3 separate regions of the Homo sapiens genome follow, and regions 1 and 3 are each linked to region 2. Evidence: promoter capture Hi-C in 16 types of primary human blood cells and fetal thymus (Javierre and others, 2016). All regions are on one chromosome and are shown on one strand. Each heading gives the region's core, a stretch centred on a gene start or on the middle of the fragment in contact. The rest is flanking DNA. Distances are from core to core; before and after follow the strand shown.

Region 1 (4,613 bases), core at 638-3,137, 1.2 Mb after region 2:
AATGGCTAGATCTTATATGACAATTAGAACTCTGACCCACAACCTCTACAGCAACCAGCCGAGAATAATCAGGACTTGGTCAATGACTCAGTTTCCCTGTTTTTTGCCGCCTCCTTTCTTCAACTCAGAACCCACTAAAGACAGCCAAATATGCTACCTACCCCAAACCAATCACCTAAGAGACACTACTTTTGTTAGCCCACCTCCAGCTTTCCCATGCTAATACCCTCAAGTCAGAGTATACATGAAACCTTCCCTTTTTGTTCACTACTAAGCTTTCCTGGCCAGGTGCAGCTGCTCATCCCTGTAATCCCAGCACTTTGGGAGGCTGAGACAGGAAGACTGCTTGAGCCCAGGAGTTCAAGACCAGCCTGGACAACATAGTGAGACTCCATCTCTACAAAGAATTAAAAAAAAATAAGCTGGGCATGGTGGCACGTGCCTGTAGAGCCAGCTACTCAGGAGGTTGAGGTGGGAGGATCGCTTGCTCAGGAGGTCGAGGCTGCAGTGAACCACGATCGCACCACTGCACTCCAGCCTGGATGACAACAGAGTGAGACCCTGTAGGTAATTAAGTAAGTAAGTAGTTTTCCTAATGTCCTGACAGGCTTTGAGTCGGCCAAATGCAAGTGATGGTGACTGACTCCCTTGTCATAGTAAGCTTTGAATAAATAAAGCATTTGGGTGGTCTTCCTCCCCGATCCCCCCCATTCATTCATTTGCTTATTAATTATACATTAGTTGTGTTTTATCTGCCAGGCAGTGGCCAGTATTGGGAATATGTGGAAGCAAATAGTCCCTGCCTTCAAGGATATTCTGTCTAGTGGGACAGACAGACAGACATATACGTATAATAGTAATTCAACGTGCTAAGTGAAACAATAGGCATGTATAAAAAAGGTGTAGTAGGTCAAGTAGGGCTTTTAGGGGAAGGCGACCCTTAAGATGGGTGGTAAGGGATGAGTAGGAGGTGATTTGGCTAAGAGGCTGGGACGGTTATTCAAGGCAGGTGGAGGGGCAGAATGAGCAAAACAGGACGCGTTGCTGGAGCGTGGTAAGGAAGGCAAGTAGCGGCAGAGGACGGCGGTAGGGCGGATCGTGGGGCGCAATGGATGTGCCACGTTGGAAAGAGCTTGGACTTTATGCCGTCCTCCTGGAAATGAGATAACGGCTGGTGTAAGCAAGAAAGAAACACACACACACCCACGCGCGCGCGTCGTTTCCTTTGTGTTACTGTAAGGTCAAGGAGGGCGGCGACACAGAAATTCATGATGACTGGCATAAGCAGACATTCAATGAATGAATGAATGGACATAAGCACTTTGGTGTAAACGTCATTGTCTTCGATTTCTGTTTTCTCACGGGGCAAGACAGTGAGGTCGGGGCATCAGTTTGGGAGGTGATAGGGAAGGTTTAAGGTGAGAGAACTGCCATTCTGGTAGGGAGGGTCAGTGGGCACAAAACCAACAATAGGTTATGGGCAAGGGATGCGCTTCGGTCGCGAACACCCTGAACCCACCTACCGGAGCTACTCTGTCCCAGGAGCGGCCGTGGAGAAAGCAACCAGCCGAGAGTTCGCGCCCCAGGGAGGGAAGCGGGCACAGGGCCGCCCAGCGCCACTCACCTGTGAGCTCTCCGCGGGCCCTGCAGGCGGAGCCTCGGTACGACGCCTTTCCGATTGGGCGCGGCTCAAAGTCCCGGGGCGGGCATCAGAGGCCGAGCGCTCTAGGGGATTGGCCACCCTGGCGGACGGACGTGCTGCTGACCGAGCTGGTTCGCCCCCGGTTCGGCTCGTGGAGAGCCGGCCCCTCCGTGAGTCTTCTGTCAGTCATTGGCTCCCTGCGGTTTCCTTGGGGACGTGGCGCCGCCGCCGGCCGGGCCCTCCTTCCGGCTGGGCAAGGGGCCGCGGGGAGCAGCTCGGGACTGAACCGAGAGGTGCCGAAGGAACCGGCGGGCCGCTTGATCCCGTGAGTGTGGGCGCGAGAGGGCTGTGGGACCCGGAGGGACGGGGAGAGGAAGCGGGACCCACACCCCGCCACCTGGGGACGACCGGTTCCTAGAGGACAGAGCTGGCCCACGAGAACGCCCCGCTCCCAGGATGCCCGGGTAGGGTCCCCTGGGCCTGAGGAACCAGAGCAGACGGAGCGGGAGCCTGGGGAGGAGGTGGGAGCCGTGGAATTCCCGTGCAGGTTTGTCTCGTGGGCTCAGTCGGACAGAAGCCTGAAATCAAATCTTTCTAGGCTGCAGACGTAGGAGATGCCTGGGACAAGGAGGCCACCTTCTCAGGGCAAAAGAAAAAGAAGGTGACAGGCGTTGAGACCACCGAAGGGAACCCATGGCTAGGTAAGGCTGCACACTTTCCCTCCGGCTGGGAGCACGGCAGAGGATGGCAGGCAGGTTGGGGGGCCCTGGGAGGCTGTCCCAAGTGAGGTTTGCCCTGGAGCTGCACTTGGACTTTGTATTCTGGTTAGTTGGATGCAGAGACGATCAAAGTTGTATTATTTCGAGGGCTGATAAATAATAGTTTCTAGCCCATAGACCAGGAGTGGTAGAGTGAGTCGGCTTGCTCAGCTCTGTAAAGTGCAAGGTTGTAACATTGATTCAGATTCGCATCTGAGCAAGGCTAGGTGCCACTTGAGGAGGTTAAACAAAGAAGTTTTTTTGTTTTTTGTTTGCAGTGAACTTTAAAAGCAGACAGACCGAGGTCCTTTTGAATCAATATACAAAGTGAACTTCACAGATGAATACACTTATCCATACATTATAATAACCTGAAGCTTTTAAAAAATATTAATGTGGATCTACATGCACCAATAAGGGAAAGTTATAAAATAAAGTGGGGGAAAGATGCAGAACAGCAGGTATGGTGGACTACCATTTGTGTAAAACCGAGGGAATGGATACGCACACACACACACACACACACACACACACACACACAGAGATATATTACTGTAAATATATTGGTGTATATTTATGCTTGTGTATCCGTAGAATATCCCTGGAAAGATACACAGCAACGGCCAGGTGCAGTAGCTCACGCCTGTAATCCCAGCACTTTGGGAGGCCAAGGCAGGCAGATCACCTGAGGTCAGGAGTTCAGGACCAGCCTGGCCAAGTAGAAACCCGGTCTCTACTAAAAATACGAAAATTAGCCGGGTGTGGTGGCAGTCACCTGTAATCCCAGCTACTGGGGAGGCTGAGGGAGAAGAATCGCTTGAACCCAGGAGGTGGAGGTTGCAGTGAGCTGAGATTGCGCTACTACACTCCAGCCTGGGCAACAGAGCAAGACTCCATCTCAAAAAAAAAAAAAATTACACAGCAACTGGGTAGTAATGTTTGCCTCTGAGAGATTGTGGGGTCAGGGCAAGAATCACTTTTCACTATACAATATATCCTTTTAAACTGATTTGTCTTTTACTATGTGCTTGTATAATCTGGTAAAACATTTTTAAAATCAGTTAAATAAATTTTCTGACCATCCTGTTTCTTGACAGAATTCTTGGTTGGGAATACTGTAGTTGCTCTGATTCTCCAATGTTATGAGGTTGCCCAGGGAGACTGGTGATCTTTTCACTAACATGAGATTAAGTCTTTGAATTGCACTCAAAGTGCAGTTTGGAAAAAGGGCAGATAAGGCTTTTCTGATATATATAGTAGAAGCACCATGAGCTTCTTCTAAAATTAGAGATGACAAGAACATTTAGACTTCTGTTGGCATGGATTTTTGCCTTTATTAGGAGGGTTTTATCCAATTTTAAAACGATATTTAAGCACTCAGTTGTAGAAATGTTTCAGACTTACTAATGTTTGTCTAATTTCAGGATCAGTTTTTCCTACCTCTGCCCAGCCTCCTGGTACTTCACTGTGCCCACAGTGAGTCCATTTCTCCGTCAGCGGGTGGCATTCCTGGGACTCTTCTTCATATCCTGTCTCCTTTTACTTATGTTAATCATAGACTTTCGACATTGGAGTGCTTCATTACCACGAGATAGGCAATACGAAAGGTGAGTCAGCTTTAGATTTTGGCACTCAAGTCATAAATATTTTCATAAGCTGTTTAACACACTACTGACTTTGACCCTTTTGGGTGATACTGTACTTTTATTAGTAAAATTGCATGCCATTTATTACATAAAGAAGATTTTAAGCCCTATTTTGGCAATATGCAGTTTGGTACAGGAATACTGATACTGCATGAAAGGCATCTTTGTGTTTTCTTGTTTTGGTGGGCTGAAACTTATTGTGTGTATAAATGTTTAGGACTGTATTATACCTTTATGAATGGACCCCTTTATCATTATTAAATGATTTTCTTTATCCTTGATTATATACTTTGCTCTGAAATCTACTAGTCTGGTATTAATATAGCTACTCCAACTTTCTTTTGATTAACATTAGCATGACAGATATTTCTTCTATAGTTTTAGTTTTAGCCTATTGGTGTCTTTATATAAGTGGGCTTCTTGTAGTCAGTGTTTGGTTGGGTCTTGTTTTTTTATCCAATCTGACTATCTCTGCAGTTAATTGGGGTGTTCGGGCCATTTATATTTAATCTGATTATTTAGTATGTTTAGTTTTAATCTTGCTATGTGTTTTTCATTTGTCACATT
Region 2 (4,416 bases), core at 1,830-4,329:
AGGGACCCTGCAGTGTGGCAAGGATGAGATAAATGGGAGCTATTTGTCTTTTAATTGGTGCTGATGATCGATCTTGGAAAACTCATAGTCTTCCAGGCAACTGGGTCCAGTTCAATCATGGCAGACCTCAAATGAGTAAGGTCAAGGATCCAAAGCACAAGACCCCCTCCCAGTGACCACCCTCAAGTCCTGGCTGAGCCCTCCTTGGCTTCTGGTGACACCTCTGTTCCCTTGAAGAGGACTTCAGCTGCGGGCTCTGCTAATCCCCAGACCTGCCTCAGGGGCCCCATAGCAGGCGCCTGGGCCCTTGAGGAGCTGCTCTGGGCGTGGGCTCTGCAGCTGCCTGCATCAGGCAGTGTTGGTTGGGTGGATGTGCTGACCTCTGGGAGACACCTCCCGCCCTCAGAATGCTCGTCACCAGGTATGGGGCCAGGAATCTCCATTTTAACAAGCCCCCTCAGTCACTCTCAGGCACATTTAGTCAAATGACTAAATGAGATTCATCTTCAAGGTGGCGGCCAGGTGCCAGTGTGCCTTCAGGGACTCAGAGGTAACCCTTGTCTCAGAAGATGCCGTTCTGTTCCTCACTGAGGCCCAAGATGCCTTTAAACCAGGCTTTATGGTATGTTTAGCAACTAAAGAAATCATGTCAAGGAAAAGCTCACACACTGAGACTCACTCGCACTTGTAGGCAAGTCACCAAGGCAGCTGGTGACCTAAAGTCAACCTTCCCCATTAGGAGACAGCAGGGTGAGCTGTGGCTGAGCACGGAAGGAGGCAGGGGGCTTCTCTGAGGCTAAGTGAGGTGCTGGAGATGGCTCCCACCAGCCCGGGGAGTTTGTGAGCCGGCTGTCAAACAGCCATTGATATAAACTAAATTATATAAGCTTACAATTAAATAAATTAAAAACAAAGGTAATAAATACTCAAAACACACTACCTCCTATTTGTTTTACTACATTTGACTGTTGCCCATGCCCTGGCAGTCACTGGCCTCTATGTACATATCTGCATGGTGGACACACTATACAATGATGTGCTACTGGGTATCTCTCCTAAATCACATTGAGCAACCTCATCTTGGTAACAGAAAAGGCTATGGTGGGAGTATTTACACCACTGTCATCAGCAAATATTACACAGAAGGGCTGAATTTATTTTTTGTGGTCAGGCTTAAGAAAGTGATGGGAAAATGCTAATAATGCAGATTAAACCTAACAGTGTTAGCTGTTATAGCATGAATAAATAGCACAAAAATTGAAGGAAATATTCTAGTATTAGAACAATATTATCTTATTTGAGTAACATCATTCCTGTCATTTAAAGAAGGAGGCCGGGCGCAGTGGCTCACACCTGTAATCCCAGCCCTTTGGGAGGCTGAGGCAGGTGGATCACAAGGCCAGGAGTTTGAGATCAGCCTCGCCAACATGGTGAAACCCCGTCTCTACTAAAAATACAAAAATTAGCCGGGCGTGGTGGTGGGCGCCTGTAGTCCCAGCTACTCGGGAGGCTGAGGCAAGAGAATCGCTTGAACCCAGGAGGCGGAGGTTGCAGTGAGCCGAGATTGCGCCGCTGCACTCCAGCCTGGGCAACAGAGCAAGACTCCATCTCAATAAATGAATAAATAAATAAAATAAAAATAAATTTTAAAAAATAAAGGAGTAAGGTTGGGACATAAATCTTTGTTGTTTCATTTGTTTCACGATCATCCTACTCTTTACAGAAAATATGGAGCACCGTTCTCTTTGGAGCTACCCTCATTTGTCATTTGCAACTATAGGTTGGCTACTGAGTTTGGCAAAAATCAAAGAAAGCCTTTGGTAAGAATCACTCGGGTAGACTGCATTTAAATTGAGAGTATTGTATCTTTATTTGTAAAATTGTGTGCAGTGTATCTTTTATTTCAATATTTAAAATAAGCATGTGTATATGTGTATATATATGTACGTAACACATATACATATATATACACATATATGTGTGTATATATACATATATATACATGTACACACACACATACATCACACATTTTTCCCTGGAGAGGTGAGTGTTGAGTATCTACCAGCTCGCAACTGCTCTAGTACATATGAAAATGAAGGCATGCCCTCAAAGCTGCATGTTGAGTGCCGTCTGCTTTCGGTCCCGTCATTATCTCTGTATAGACCCAGTTGGCAATCATGCATTTGGGGCCCTCTGCAAGTGTGAAAGGAAGGCACTAAGGAAAGACCACCTGGTCCTGGGCCTGCCTCTTCCCCTAGCACCCAGTAGACTGTGATACTCTGAGCCCAGGGGTTGGCAAAGTGTGGCAGATCACTGCAGATCCCCAAATGTCCCAGAGCTGCAAGGCAATGGGGTCCATCTCCCTCTGCAGACACGCAGTAGGAACTCTGGGACTCAGTTCTGTTTTATCCTAACTGGCCTTTATGAAATGACTGCAGTTTCTTGTGACGAGGGGTGGCCTCAGTGGTAAGGTAGTGGTGACCAGAACTCAGGGCACTGAGGGGGCGGGGTGCTGGATTTCACTTGTCTGTTGGCCCAGGGCTCTTTCCAACCCTTACAAACCATAGGCTGAGAATGTGGTGGAAACTAGGTCACTTTGCAAGAGATATAGGGAAACCCCTGAGCTCACCTAGTCTTCCTGTCATTCTCCATGGGAAGATCCAAGCCCAGAGAAGGCAAGCATTTGCCCCAGGCCACACAGCAGAGCCAGCACCGGAATCCCAGGTGCCTGCCTGCCAGATGGAAGGGCTTTCCATTGCAGCCCCTGCTAGCGTATAAACTTCTGGCTGGGTTATGCCAGAGGAGAGAGCAGTGGGGCTTGGCTCCCCCTCCCCCTCCCCACCAAGCTCTGAGCAGGGCTGTCTTCCCGCCCCTCAGCTCTGGCCCGGCCTGCTTTACCACTTTACCTGCTCCTATCACCACCGCATCATACTCAGGCTTCAGACCTCCCCTGGCTTCCGTGTTATCTCGTCTCCACGCCGGGAAGGGAGAGGCGGCCACAGCCTTGCAGAGACCTCGGCCACTTGCAGCCATTTCTGCCCCAGGCTGGGCCTTGCTAGGCAGGGAGTTTGCTAGCGATTGGCTTTTGTGCTGCCCTAGGCACGGGGTGGAGCAGGGAGGAAGCAGGAAGAGGAGGAGCTGCAGTCCCCCTCCAGGCCCCCTCCACCATGCATTCTTGGCCACAGGCCAGCCTCCTGCTGCCCTGGGGCTGTGCTGGGCCGTCGGGAGTGTTGCCTATTAACCAGGCGGTGTCACCTCCAGGATGCAGGGGATAATGGCAAAACTGACAATCCACTGGGGTTCCTATGTCAGGCTGGCATTGTGCTGAACCCTGTAGGCAAAACTCCCCATTTTACAGATGAGGGCGCTGAGGCTGCGGGGTTAGGGAATGAGTGGTGGAGGCAGAGTGGAGCTCGAAAGGGCCCTCTCCTCCCCTGTGCATCTACCTTCTCAGTCAGAACTGAAACGCCTGGGATGGCAAGTGCTCGTGTCAGACTCTGCTCCAACTCCATGCTGAGTCTGCCAGTGCAGAGTGGTGATGCCTCTACGCCCACAGGAGGCGCCCAGGGCGGCCATCTAGCGTCACCACGACCAGGGCCTTCAGACACCGCAGAGGCAGCTGTGTCTGTCGCTGAGGAGCACTGGAGTCCTCTCCTAAATGCTCAAACACAAACCCACAACGAGGGCTTAGGGGCAAGTTCGCTGTCTGTAATTCTCTGGTGTTTTAGTTTTGAAGGCCTGGCCAGTTCTCCTCTTTTGGCACCTTGCCCATTTTCCAAGAATCCCCAAGGATTCGAGGTCACATCTGTAAATACCTCCAGCTAAAGTTCTTTCTGACCCTCCCTTAGGCCTGCCTTGAATTAGGAGCCCCTTTGTTCTCTGCCCATTACTTAGCAGAGTGTTCCCCTAGGAGGAAAAAACCCCTTGGAGCGGAGAGTTCCTGCACTGCTCTGATATCGCAGTGTGACGGAAACCTGCTATTGGTAACGAATCTCAGAACTGGGAGAGTATGTGGAGATGATCCTAAGAGGGGGTTCCGAGGACCCCTCCACACACCATGGACAGTTACCCCGCATGTGAGCATCTCTGCTAAGATCTGATTCAGGATGTTCACTCCTGTGTTATTTATTATATAGAAAGATCAAGGGGACTGGTTAAACTAGACATATCACATCCAGCCGCTGCTAAAAACTAAAGGGAAATAGTAGGTGACAAAAGCAGGGGTCCTGAACAGTGGTGGGCTCAGGGGATTGGAGTTTTTTCCTTTATGTTTTTCTGTATTTTCCACAATCCACGCTTTTCATTGCCATTCCATCAGATGATGTTAAGGAGGAACACAGATCCAGTCACCTGAGGGGATACTTCCTCACTGCCACCTTCTCAGGGTTTAGACCAACATGTGGGTTCTAGTTCCCC
Region 3 (4,639 bases), core at 1,300-3,799, 1.0 Mb after region 2:
TCTCCACATCCTGGGGCAGCAGCCTTCTCCAAAGAAACAGAAAGAAGGAAATGGATTGCCTTAGCAAAAAAACAAATGAAGACACTCCAAATAACAGAAGAATGGGAAGGCTACAGACCTTGAAGTCAGAAGAAAATTTCCTCTCCTTGCCCCGTTTCTCCTTAAATGGATCACCAGTACAGTCTCTTACTTCTAGAGCCATGTTAAGCTTTCTTCCCCAAAGTTGTAATGTCCTTCTTTTGGTTGTGTCGTGTCCTAAAATCCTACTCTTTGGTACAAGATGAAGGTATATGAAGAGATAATGAAGGAAACAAATTCAATGTGTTTGCCAAGAACACAGTCTTTTAAATAACTCTTAAAGGGTTCGTTTAAAACAGTGTAATAAATTGTGGTAATCTAGTACACAAAGCTAGTAGGAACCTCGTTTATTAATAATATTTCAACATTGAGCAGTAGAGGGCAGCACTATCCTTCTTTTGCAAAATGTTGAGCACTCTTGAGAAGGAAAATAAAGGCAAAGCTCCTGACCCCTGTGTCTGTGTTTACTTTTACCATTAAAAAAAAACAAAAAATTGGAGTATTTTTATTATGGTTTAGGTGATTATGTATAAAGAATGTCAGAGCCTGCATTACCTGGAAGTGGTGCACCAGGTAATGCAAAAAACACGGAAGGTTTGAGGTCCCCCACTCAGGATATGGGTTCTGTCTAGTAAAGATAAACAGTAGCTTGACCCTGGGTAATCAGATAGGGTTATTGTATGAACAGACCTAATGCTCCTGCACGTTCTGGATAGAAGTCAATCTACTGAAATAGCAGGATGTAGTTTTAAAAAATGTGTGTAACTCATATAGTCTTAGCCCTGATAAGTGCTTCTAAATTCTTATTCACTGCCTTTATTCTGCTGTGTTAGTGTTGCTCTCTGTCATACGTGGGTCAGGTCAGAACTAGCTCAAATACAGTATGTGTATTATGACTTTAAGGAGTGGTGTCAGACAAGATGGGTAAAGAATGTCTTTCATGGGACTGCAGTTGGCTAAATGGCTGTGTATAAGTAGTGAAATTGAAGCCTTGTATGCTCGTCGTCATTCTATCACAGTATGATTTGAGTTTCCCTAACCGGTAAACAGCAAGAAAAAATGATCTGTTATTTTTTACTAAAGTTACTTGATGCTCTTTAGCAAGCTGACAGAATAATTCTAATTTTAGCAAATACAAAACCATGGTAATCCTAGCACATTTGGATTCTGTTTAACCCTGAAAACTCTTTTGGCAGCAAATCTTCAATGCCAATTTAGATAAATCCCACTAGGAATAAGCACTGAAAGACGTTGAGTCTAGTTCCCAGCTCTGCCATGTGAAGTTGGGCAAATTACAGTCTCTGAGCTTTTATTTCATCTGTTAAATGGAGATAATACCTCCTAGATTTATTAAAAGGGTCAATTTAGAAAATATGTATTAAAATGGTTTGAAAGCCATTTAAGTACCTAATGAATATTTCTATCACTGTAGCCCAAAAAGATTCCTGCCTAGAAGACTTTATGTCTCTTCTCCTCATTTGGTATCATTCTATTGCCTGAGATTGTTAATTAACTTTTATGTATACTCAATATTTTCTCCCAACTTGGTTGCTAGTTCCTTGAGAACTGAAACCATCAATTGCACTTCTTGGTATCCTCCACAATAAGGTATCTAGGTACTCAAATATTTGTTGGTTGATTAAAAACATAAACCACAAGACATAATTAACTCTTTTTAAAATTGTGGTAAAAAAACATGTATTTACCATCTTAATCATTTTTAAGTATACTGTATATTAGTGTTTACTATATGCACATTGTTGTGCAACACATCTCTAGGACTTTTTCATCCAGAATTCTTTTTTTTTGAGACAGAGTCTTGCTGTGTCGCCCAAGCTGGAGTTCAGTGGCACCATCCTGGCTCACTGCAACTGCTGCCTCCCAGGTTCAAGTGATTCTCCTGCCTCAGCCTCCCGAGTAGCTGGGATTACATGTGCCTGCCACCACGCCTGGCAAGTTTTTGTATTTTTAGTAGAAATGGTGTTTTACCATGTTGGCCAAGACTGGCCTAGAACTCCAGACCTCAAGTGATCCACCCGCCTCAGCAGCCCAAAGTGGTGGGATTACAGGCATGAGCAACTGTGCCTGGCCTAGCCATTTTCTATAAACCTGAAAATAGATGCCAGAAAAGAAGGTGCCGCTATAAAATGCTTTCTTGAGTGATTTATGTCTAACATACAATTAAACATTTATGAGAAGGAAATTATCAGGTTAAAATATAAACTCACTTGCCAATTATTTGATTTTCAGGATATCTGACTTTTGTTAATTACTGAAAATAAAGTATTATTTCTAATCACTATTGGTATCACAATAGCATTTTTATTTGGCCGGTATGTGTGAGGCCTGGAGTATGACGGGAAACTGTCCTAGAAAAGGCCCTTGCATTGGCTGTAGAGAGTTCTGGAACTCTCAAGATGGCAAGATTGTATTTAACTCTTTTAAAAACAATGCACCTTTTCAAGCACAGATTTTCATCTGATGTTGTGACCGTCAATTATGTCAGATTTGTTTGATATATTAAAAAATTGGTTTCTCCTTTGCACAAAATAAATTATAGATGGATATAAGATTTAAATATTTTAAACAATATAGGGAAAATAATATATTTGAAACATAGTATTAGGGTAGAATAGACTTTCCTAATCATGGCACAATCTCAGAAGCTATAAAGAAAATAATTGACTTTGCATGGCTATAGACACCATAAATAAATATGTGATAACATGGAAGAATATTTGCAACATGCTTATTAGTCACATCTGTTATATAGTCAGAGCTTCATTGTATTGGTGGAAAAATTAGGATATAAAGAAATTCAGAAAAGAATAAATACAAATAACCAGTAAACATGTCCAAAATCATCCTCATTATAAAATTGAAACCACGCTGATTTATCAATGTTTACCCATTAGACTGACAAACATTTTAAATGTTCAAAAAATAGTGTTGAGGGAAAAGAGCAATGACATGCACTATTGGGGAGACTGTCAATGAATAAAGCCTTTTCTTGTATTTTGGTAATAACAGTCAAAATGCACATAATACCATTTGACCAAGCAATTTCTCCTCTAGGAATCTATCCTAAAGAAATTTATACAAGTTTTCAAAGATAGGTATGTAGGCATACAGTTATGCATTGTAGCTTTGCTTTAACAGAAAAAGAGTAAACACATGTATTATTTTTGTAGCCTAAAAAAAAATCAAGTTTTCATTGAAAATAAAAATGACAGGTTTGAAGCAGGACAGTGGCCATGGAAGTCGAATCCACTAAGGCGTGTGTAACAAGTCACCTGCTGAGTCAACAAAAATAAATAAAAATTTTTTAAAAACAGGCTTGAGAGACACTTCACAGGAATAGAAAATTTAGATAGTTTCTAACAATGACAATGAAGTAGGACAGGAAAAAGTAATTCTCCAAAGCAAAGTATGTATGTGTGTAGTAACTTAAAACTTCAGATACTATGAGAAACTATTTTTAAATAAAGAACAATGTGGTGTGCTACAGTTTAGAGTTGATCTGGAAATCTGGGGAGCTATTGATGCTCCTTAGTTAATAAATTAGTGATTTTTAAAAATATGAATCCCCATTATCCGTAGCAAACTAACGCAGGAACAGAAAACCAAATACTGCCAAATACTGCATGTTCTCATAAGTGGGGCTGAATGATGAAGAACACATGGATACATGAAGGGGAATAACACACACTGGGGCCTGTCAGGGGTGGGAGTAGGAGGAAGGAGGGCATCAGAAAGAACAGCTAATGGATGCTTGGCTGAATAGCTAGGTGACAGGATGATCTATGCAGCAAACCACCACGGCACACATTTACCTATGTAACAAACCTGCACATCCTGCACATGTACTCCTGAACTTGAGAATTGAAGAAAAAAAATGAATCCCACAATTCTGTATCCAAAGACCGAGAACAGCTCCTGACATCGAACAGACAATAAATATTGGCTGAAGGAATGAATGAGGATATTTGCATCCGAGTTTTAATTAGAATAGATGTAAAATTGCCTAATGATTATTACTTGTTCTGCAACAAGTGTTTAATAGATACTAGTTCACTACTTATACGTGTCTAACACATCACAAAGGTTTATTTAAAAGAATTTATATAGTGCTTATTATATGTTGGGTACTGTTCTAAGTTCTTCACAAACACTAACTCATTCAAGTTGTATAAGTGAAGCAGGTGGTCTAATTATTCCATTTAACAGATGAGGCAATTGAGGCAAAGAGCAATTAAGTAACTTGCCCACGATGGCACAGCTAGACAATGGTGGGGATATGAACACAGTCTGCCTCCAGGGTCACTTCTCCATGGTGCCATATTGCATCCCACACGGTAAAAACTTACTAAATGTAAGAATGCATAAAGTGTTACTGTTTTTGAAATTATATTATGCTTTTGCCCCAGAAAGTCAGAATATTTGATATCAAATCATGTCTAAAAATCATTCCCACAACTTCCCTTTGAGGTAGAGCATATTTCTAAAATCATGTTTTAGTGTATTACTGGTTTAATAGTTGTGTTTAAAAAGAACATGGGAG

What was found. The method cuts DNA at HindIII sites, captures the fragments that hold promoters and counts their contacts. A CHiCAGO score of 5 or more calls a contact.
Region 1: a contact is called between the fragment with the promoter of ENTPD7 here and the fragment with the promoter of PYROXD2 in region 2, in 4 of 17 cell types (non-activated CD4 T cells, M0 macrophages, total CD8 T cells and 1 more). The highest score is 9.5, in non-activated CD4 T cells.
Region 3: a contact is called between a fragment that was not itself captured here and the fragment with the promoter of PYROXD2 in region 2, in 2 of 17 cell types (activated CD4 T cells and non-activated CD4 T cells). The highest score is 5.2, in activated CD4 T cells.

What each region holds. Positions count from the first base shown.
Region 1 is chr10:99,657,622-99,662,234 of GRCh38, forward strand. It overlaps ENTPD7 (ectonucleoside triphosphate diphosphohydrolase 7), which reads left to right and starts at 1,888. Exons shown (of 13, transcript NM_020354.5): 1 at 1,888-1,967; 2 at 2,241-2,343; 3 at 3,825-4,007. The coding sequence starts at 2,336. It also overlaps a transcript of SLC25A28 not described here. RefSeq lists silencers at 1,567-1,776, 1,897-2,116. The HindIII fragment of the contact is 2,116 bases long and covers 660-2,775 here.
Region 2 is chr10:98,412,103-98,416,518 of GRCh38, forward strand. It overlaps PYROXD2 (pyridine nucleotide-disulphide oxidoreductase domain 2), which reads right to left and starts at 3,080. Exons shown (of 16, transcript NM_032709.3): 1 at 2,907-3,080. The coding sequence starts at 3,033. It overlaps HPS1 (HPS1 biogenesis of lysosomal organelles complex 3 subunit 1), which reads right to left. Exons shown (of 20, transcript NM_000195.5): 20 at 4,096-4,416. The HindIII fragment of the contact is 3,850 bases long and covers 886-4,416 here.
Region 3 is chr10:99,435,738-99,440,376 of GRCh38, forward strand. The region is part of intron 3 of GOT1-DT (GOT1 divergent transcript); the gene reads left to right. Among named protein-coding and RNA genes, the nearest start is that of GOT1-DT, 7.1 kb to the left of the region's middle. The HindIII fragment of the contact is 4,686 bases long and covers 207-4,639 here.